Regions from separate parts of the Homo sapiens genome. Here region 1 is linked to region 2. Evidence: promoter capture Hi-C in human tissues and cell types (Jung and others, 2019). All regions are on one chromosome and are shown on one strand. The core of a region is centred on a gene start or on the middle of the fragment in contact, and the rest is flanking DNA. Distances in the headings are between cores, read along the strand shown.

Evidence for each region. The method cuts DNA at HindIII sites, captures the fragments that hold promoters and counts their contacts. A contact is called where the count stands out against the background at its distance.
Region 1: a fragment that was not itself captured here is called in contact with the fragment with the promoter of ZNF619 in region 2 in 1 of the 25 tissues and cell types used here (lymphoblastoid cells).

What each region holds. Positions count from the first base shown.
Region 1 is chr3:42,027,685-42,031,841 of GRCh38, reverse strand. It overlaps a transcript of TRAK1 not described here. Among named protein-coding and RNA genes, the nearest start is that of TRAK1, 62 kb to the left of the region's middle. The HindIII fragment of the contact is 5,858 bases long and covers 1-4,157 here.
Region 2 is chr3:40,475,743-40,479,751 of GRCh38, reverse strand. It overlaps ZNF619 (zinc finger protein 619), which reads right to left and starts at 2,630. Exons shown (of 5, transcript NM_001145093.4): 1 at 2,395-2,630; 2 at 1,749-1,834. The coding sequence starts at 1,772. RefSeq lists an enhancer at 2,317-2,456. The HindIII fragment of the contact is 8,968 bases long and covers 1-4,009 here.

The sequences.
Region 1 (4,157 bases), core at 526-3,025, 1.6 Mb before region 2:
TGATCTTTACTCTGGGGGCATTTTATTATCCATGCCGTGAGGAAACTGGAAACGCACCTCAGACAGCCCCACTCTTAAAAGGATCATTTTGAAAACAGTAAATTTCAAATGAGGCACTGCATCCAGACACAGCCTAAGCAAATTTTACAACACATATACTGAGGAAGTACTATCAAATCACCTGAAGAATGTTCAGAAAACTATTTTTTGAGACAAGGTCTCGCTCTGTCCCCTGAGCTGGAGTACAGTAGCACAATCATGGCTCACCGTAACCTCAAATTCCTGGGCTCAAGTGATTCTCCTCCCTCAGCCCCATAGTAGCTAGGACTACAGGCGCACACCACCATGCCTGGCTAACTTTTTTATTTTTTGTGGAGATGGGGGTCTCGCTATGTTGCTATCAAGCTATCCTCCTGCCTCAGCCTCCCAAAGTGCTGGGATTACAGGCATAAGCCACCATGTCCAGTCAGGAATCTTTGGAAAACTTTCAATTTTGAAAATTCAAGGCCAGGCACGGTGGCTCACGCCTGTAATCCCAGCACTTTGGGAGGTCGAGGCGGGTGGATCACAAGGTCAGGCGTTCGAGACCAGCCTGGCCAATATCGTGAAACCCCATCTCTACTAAAAATACAAAAAAAATTAGCCAGGCATGGTGGCACATGCCTGTAATCCCAGCTACTTGGGAGGCTGAGGCAGGAGAATTGCTCGAATCTGGGAGGTGGAGGCTGCAGTGAGCCGAGACCACGCCACTGCACTCCAGCCCGGGTGACAGAGCGAGACTCCATCTCAAAAAAAAAAAAAAAAAAAATTCAAATAGCTGAGGTTAAGTGTCACTGACACTGTGCTCTGAGCACATTGTTCCGTTTTCTCTTTGTACTCTGTTCAATCGTTACACCATGCTCAATGATTTGGGATGAAGTTTGAGGTTTACCTTCTTACTTCTGCCAATGAAAGTAATCTCTCAGCTACAAAATAAAAGAACATTCTCCTTCTTCATCCACTACTTCTAGCTTGAGATGAAGATGCTTCCACCTAGTTCTCAAATACCGGGAAAACTTTAACCCAAGCAGTCCCTACTAACTGCCTGACCAACAAGTTACATATATATATATATATATATATATATATATATATATATATATATATATATATTCTTTTTTTTTTTTTTTGAGATGGAGTCTCCCTCTGTCACCCAGGCTGCAGTGCAGTGGTGCAATCTTGGCTCAATGCAACTTCCATCTCCCAGATTCAAGCAATATTCCTGCCTCAGTCTCCCAAATAGCTGGGATTACAGGCATACGCCACCATGCCTGGTCCATCTTTGTATTTTTAGTAGAGATGGGGTTTCATCACGTTGGGCAGGCTGGTCTTGAACTCCTGACCTCAAGTGATCCACCCACCTCGGCCTCCCAAAGTGCTGGGATTACAGACGTGAGCTACCACGCCCGGCCATATATATATATATATATTTTTTTTTTTAGAGACAGGGTCTCGCTTTGTCTCACAGGCTGGAGTACAGTGGCGAGATCACAGCTTACTGCTGCCTTGCGCTCCTGAGCTCAAAAGGGATCCTCCCACCTCAGCCTCCCAATGTTGCCCATGCTGGTCTGGAACTTCTGGCCTCAAGCTATCCTCCTGTCTCAGCCTCCCAAAGTGCTGGGATTATAGGTGTGAACCACCACACCCAGCCAACAACAATTTTTAAGCCCAGGATTTTAAAATTATGTAAATGTTTTCTGACTTAAAAATTCCATTTAGATGTCTGTGAGATCTCGGCATCACCCTCGCCTCTTCTCTCCCTTGGCTGCTCCTGTCCCTCTACCCCACAGGGCACGTCACATCCTTCCACTGCCTTGAAATGCCACCTTCTACCACTCTCCTTCTCCCACCTATCCCAGTGCAAAACCCTCTCTACCATCCGTACTTCCAATCGTGCCTCCCCTATTCTGGCTCTCCACACAGAAGCTGGGGTTTCATTTAAAAAATCAATCAGGGCCAGTCGCAGTGGCGTACACCTGTAATCACAGCACTTTGGGAGGCTGAGGTGGGTGGATCACTTGAGGCCAGGAGTTTGAGACCAGCCTGCCAACATGGCAAAACCTCGTCTCTACTAAAAATACAAAAATTAGCCAGGCATGGTGGCACGCACCTGTAATCCAAGCTACTTGGGAGGCTGAAACATGAGAATCACTTGAACCGGGGAGGCAGAGGTTGCAGTGAGCTAAGATCACACCACAGCACTCCAGCCTGGCCAACAGAGTGAGACTCTGTCTCAAAAAAAAAAAAAAAAAATTCTATCAGGCTGGGCACACTGACTCATACCTGTAATCCCAGCACTTAGGGAAGACAAGGAGGGAGGATGCCTTGAGCTCAGGAGTTCAAGACTACCCTGGGCAACATAGTGAGACCCCATCTCTACCAAAAAAACAAGCAAAATTAGCCAGGCATGGTGGCGCGCACCTGCAGTCCCAGCTACTGGAGGGGCTGAGGTGGGAGGATCACTCAAGCCCAGAAGGTTGATGCTCCCATGAGCTGAGACTGCACCGCTGCATGCCAGCCTGGGTGACAGAGCAAGACACTGTGATATGGTTTGGATCTCTGTCCCCGCCCAAATCTCATGTTGAATTGTAATCCCCAATGCTGGAGGTGGGGCCTGGTGGGAGGTGATTGGATCATGGGGGTGGTTTCTTATGGTTTAACACCATCCCCCTTGGTACTGTTTAAAAGTGTGTAGCACCTCTATCTTTTCTCTTCCTCCTGCTCCAGCCAAGTGAAGTGCTGGCTCCCCCTTTGCCTTCCACCATGATTGTAAGTTTCCTGAGGCCTCCCTAGAAGCCAAGTAGATGCCAGCACCATGCTTCCTGTGCAGGCTGTAGAACCATGAGCCAATCAAACCTTTTCTTTGTAAATTACCCAATCCTAGGTATTTATTTATAGCCATGTGAGAATAGACTAACATACCGTCTCATAAATAAATCATCTAAAAATCAATCAATTCTTGTCACTCCCCTGCAGCTTCCTCCATACTCAGAATCCTCCAGTAGTTCCCAATCATATGCAGATTAAAATACCCACTCCTTACAACAGCCAGCAGGCCAGTGGGATGCAGCCGTCCCCTGACTATCTCCTGGCTTCATCCACGTCCACTATCCCCAGGGTCCCCTGCACTGCAGCCACACTGGCCTTCTCACCAAGGCCTCTGCACTTGCTGTTTGCTCTGCCTGGGAAGCTTTTCCTCCATATGTTCCCATGGCTCAATCCCCATTCAATCTCTGCTCACCTATAACCTCCCTAAAGACACCTCTGCTGCCACCTCATTCTCTCCCCTAGTCACTACCTGGTATCATATCCTACATCTATTACTACATTGGGTCTCTTTGGTCTGCCCCCAGACCTGGACTGTCTCATTTACTGTCATAACTCAGTGCCTGGCCCAGGGAAGCCACACAGCTCACACTTAGCAATCACTGATCTAAGTGGGTCTCCAGCTCCCCATTCTGCCAGGAATCCCCTGACTCTAATCAAAGGTGATTCTTACCTGCGGAAGACCTGTAAAATCAGAGTGAACCATGTATTTCCGGAATAAACATAAACCACTCAGCAACTCTACTGGGGAGCAGCATGTAAACACGTGGCCCACGGCCTGGTGTTCCGGCACCTGTATCCACTAGTTTGTAAGAACAGAGGCTGTGGCCGGGGGTGGTGGCTCATGCCTGTAATCCCAGCACTTTGGGAGGCCAAGGCAGGTGGATCACCTGAGGTCGGGAGTTTGAGACCAGCCTGGCCAACATGATGAAACCCCGTCTCTACTAAAAATACAAAAAATCAGCTGGGCATGATAGCTGGCGCCTATAATCCCAGCTACTCAGGAGGCTAAGGCACAAGAATGGCTTGAACTCAGGAGGCGGAGGTTGCAGTGAGCCAAGATCGCACCACTGCACTCCAACCTGGGCAACGAGAGCGAAACTCCATCTCAAAAAAAAATAACAGAGTCTGCCATTGAGATAAAAGGCTTCCTACTTTATGATTCCCCTCCTTCAGATAAAATTAGAGAAGTGAAAAATGGTTGTTCCTGGTTTTCTTTCCCAGTCTCTGAATTCGCAGGGAAATAAACATATTAATAAATAATTAGTTACCCATTTCAGTACCTCTATTCT
Region 2 (4,009 bases), core at 1,381-3,880:
ATAATGAACAGGACATCCCCCAAACAAAGAATTATCTGGCCCAAATGTAAATGATGCCAAGGTTGAAAAACCCTGCTCTAAGCTAGACTCCCTAAGTTCAAATAGTATCTCTAATACTCATTAGCTGTTAACTTTGGATGAGACAATTAAACTTTCTGTGCCTCAGTTGCCCCCATTTGTAAAACTGGGATAACAATAGTAATTATCTGAAAGGACTCTTACAAGAATGGCATTAAGTTATTATCTGTAACGCACGAAGATATCACCTGGCACATGATATCATCTAAATCTCAGCACTTACTACAACCACAGATGAGATTGGGGGAACTTCCTAGAAGATTCTAAATGACAAATGTTCCTCTTAGAGATTGTAGCAAAGACTGACAGGTGTGTGTGTACCCCCTTTCTTTCTTAGTATTGGAATCCTAATTTTACTTGAGGTTGCACTCAACCCGGGCAACCAAGTGGGGCCAATGAAATGCAAGTATAAATATTGTTGGGGACTTATGGGAAGGTTCCTAAAAGAGAGAGGTTCATCTTTTTTTGGGCAGCTCCTCTTCTAGCTGGAATGCACACATGATGGCTAGAGATCAAGCAGCCACCTTGGACAATAAAGTGGCCTAGAGCAGGTGAGACACTGCTAGGATGGTAGAGCAGAAAGACAGAGCCTGAGAGCATAATAGGGGAGCTGCCACACTAGCCCTGTATTGACTCTTGATACTTTTGTATGAGAGAGAAGCCTTTACCTCGTTTAATCCACTGTCATTTGGGGTCCTCTTTGGGGAATCTAATCCTAAGTGATTTCTGTACTTCAGGCAAAGCACCAGGAGAGCACAGCATACCCCCACAGCACACTTCCTGACTTGTAGGAATGAATTTTTGCTGAAGTTCTCGAACAGAAGTGGATGGTCCAATATCCACCAAAAGGACACACACATTGTTTTTAAGTCCTTGGGATGGAGCTTTCTCATTACAAGATACATCCATTACATGATAAACTCAGCTTTCTCATTCCATGATCTAGGACACTGGAGAAAAATCCAGTAAAACCATCATCTACCACCAAGAAAACTGGAGGGAAAAGTCCTCCCAATGCTACATGAATTTGTAGCCAAGAAAGGATATAGACTCTCACAGAGGTTAGACTGACGTCTTCGCATTGAGCTAAAGGCACTGGCTTCAGCTCCAAACTCATCATTCCTCCAAAAATACATCTCCCTCATCAATCTACATTTTCCACATGTTTCCAGTTCTGGCTTCACTGTACCTTAACTGAGTGGTCTGCAGGGTAAACTCCTCCCTTGGAAGTGTCTATTTAACCTCAGAAATGGCTTTTCTTTGTGTACTGTGAACGCAGACTAGCACTCCTCAAATTTTAATCTGCCCTTTAATTTTCCAGATCTTGTAAAAATGTAGATTCTGATTTAGGAGATCTGGGGAGGGGGCCTGACATTTTGCCTAACAAGAGCCCTCTGTAATGCAAAAGCTGCTCATCTCCAGGCCACACTTTCAGTTCTCATGAATGCAGATTCCCACTTTCTAGGATAATTCATTCCTTCTTTTCCAACCTACCTGACTCTCCCAAATTCACCTACTCTCGTTCGTCAACTCCCCTCGCATACTGTTTTTACATACTTTATTGAAGGATGTAAAACTAAGCATGAGACTGGCCAAGTCAGGCTACTGGGGCTGTACTGACCTTCCATATCTGTTCTGAGTATGGAAAGCTGAAAGAAAGCTCTGCTCACCTGGAACCACACTGTCTGGAGCATGGCTGATGACCCCTGGCTTCATGCACTGCCCTCTAGGTTTGAAAAAGTAAGAACCTGCGGAGCTAAGAGAGAACCACAATGAGACTGATCTGTCTCGTCTCCTACACTTGCCGCCTCTTCCCCTCTGTCTCCTGCCACTAGCATTGCAGATATTCTTGGCACACTAGCTGCTGTCATTCACCCTCTCCACTGATTCATGGGATGTTGCAAATGCTCCCTCTGCATATTCTCCTATAGATCTGCTTGGTGACACTGGAAACTCTAGAAAGAATATCTGTAAAGTAAGAGTCAAGAACTGCAGTGGATTCGTGGCTGTTTTTTAAAAAAAATTCTTGGCCCCACTATGAATGCATTACTAAACAGTTTGTATTGAATGCTTCTAGTGTTCATGGCAAAAACCCAAAACAAGTCTCTGGAGAGAAAGTAGGATATAACGGGGACCCCTAAACAAACCACAGGCTGCAGGACAAAATATAAGTGGTGACCCAGCCCCGGGTGACAAGGGTAAGACGCTTAATGTCCCAGCGGGTGATGCTGACCGAAGACCTAACCGGGATCTGAACGCTCCACCCTGGGAAGCAGGAGACCCTATAGTCACGGCTCCCATCCTCCCCATGAATACCGCGACCCGAGGACATCAGGCCAGCTCCTCGGAGCAGGAAGGTCGAGGGCGTCTCTGAAGACTGGGGACTGGGCCCAGGCTCTGGCGGCGGCGCGGGCCCCTCGGCGACCTCTGCAAGGGCCCAAAGCCTGACCTCCAGAACAGGTAGCCGAGTCAGGGAAGCCCGGGAAACTCAACCCGAGCGCTCGCAAGGTGGCCAAGACGGAAGCATTAGCTGGCCGGCCGTCGGTCCCTACAGCCTCTCTAGGAAGCCGGGAGGCTGGCCCTTCTCTATGGTTCCCACGAAACGAAACTCCAACCCTTCGCTTCCCTTCTCCACAACCGCTCTGCGCCTGGTTTGTTTGTTTTTTAATTTTAATTTTTTCGTGTGTTTTTTGAAACGGGGGTCTCGCTATGTTGCGCAGGCTGTTCTCGAACTCCTGAGCTCAAGCTGTCCGCCCGCCTCGGCCTCCCAAAGTGCTGGGAATACAGGCGTGAGCCACCGCGCCCGGCCGCTCCTGTTTTTCTTTATTATTTTCTCTTATGTCTTAGTACCCCAACTACATGATAAATTCCTCCATATTTAACAATTTGTAACTTAATTAACTGAATTCCTAATTCCTTACCTAATTACTTAATTCCTAACTTAACCTTCTAATGAATTTATAGCCCCTGTCTCCCACTGAATGACTGTGACCTAAGACCATGGGGTATGGTGTCTCATTGTCTGCGTTCCTGGCTCCACTCTATATGGACTTGCTCAAGTTATACTTAAATCGTTGCCTCAATTTATCAGTTGAGAATGGTAAAAGTTTGTAATTTATAAATTCAGTGAATTAACTGAGTCAATTCATGCAACAGTTTTGTAAACCAAAAATAAAATTCTAAGTCCCCCAACCAACTGAATGGACCACTTCTCTCAGCCAAAACATTCCAAAGAAAACCTGGCAATCTAGTTCAGGCCATGATGGGAAGCAGGGGATCGGACTTGCCTCGTTATGCCCTTGGAATTCAGGCACTACGGACCAGCATTAACATTAAAACAGAGATCTTGAGACTGACTAAAACTTTTTTTTTTTTTTTCCGAGATGGAGTCTTACTCTGTAGCCCAGGCTGGAGTACAGTTTCCCGATCTCGGCTCACTGCAACCTCCGCCTCCCGGGTTCAAGCAATTCTCCTGCCTCAGCCTCCTGAGTAGCTGGGATTACAGGAACGTGCCAACACGCCCGGCTAATTTTTGTATTCTTAGTAGAGACGGGATTTCACCATGTTGACCAGGCTGGTCTTGAACTAGACCTCGTGATCGCCCGCCTCGGCCTCCCAAAGTGCTGGGATTACAGGCGTGAGCCACCACGCCCAGCCCAAAACAAACTCTTTATAGCAATAAGACATCAAATTCTAACCTGACTCTAGTATAGTCTCATGTGACAGATAACAGGCCCTGAAATAAACTGAAGTATTTTACCCTAAAATGTATTTCTTTGACATATTTTGAAATGACCCTGTAAAGCTGTCTTTTGTGAAGAAAATCTACATCCTGTAAAGAATCCCCTTCACTTTCAAAGTGTTTTCCTTGATCCAGTAGAGAATTAACTAAGAGTTTGGCACCTTTTGAAGTCTGGTAAGAAACATTTAC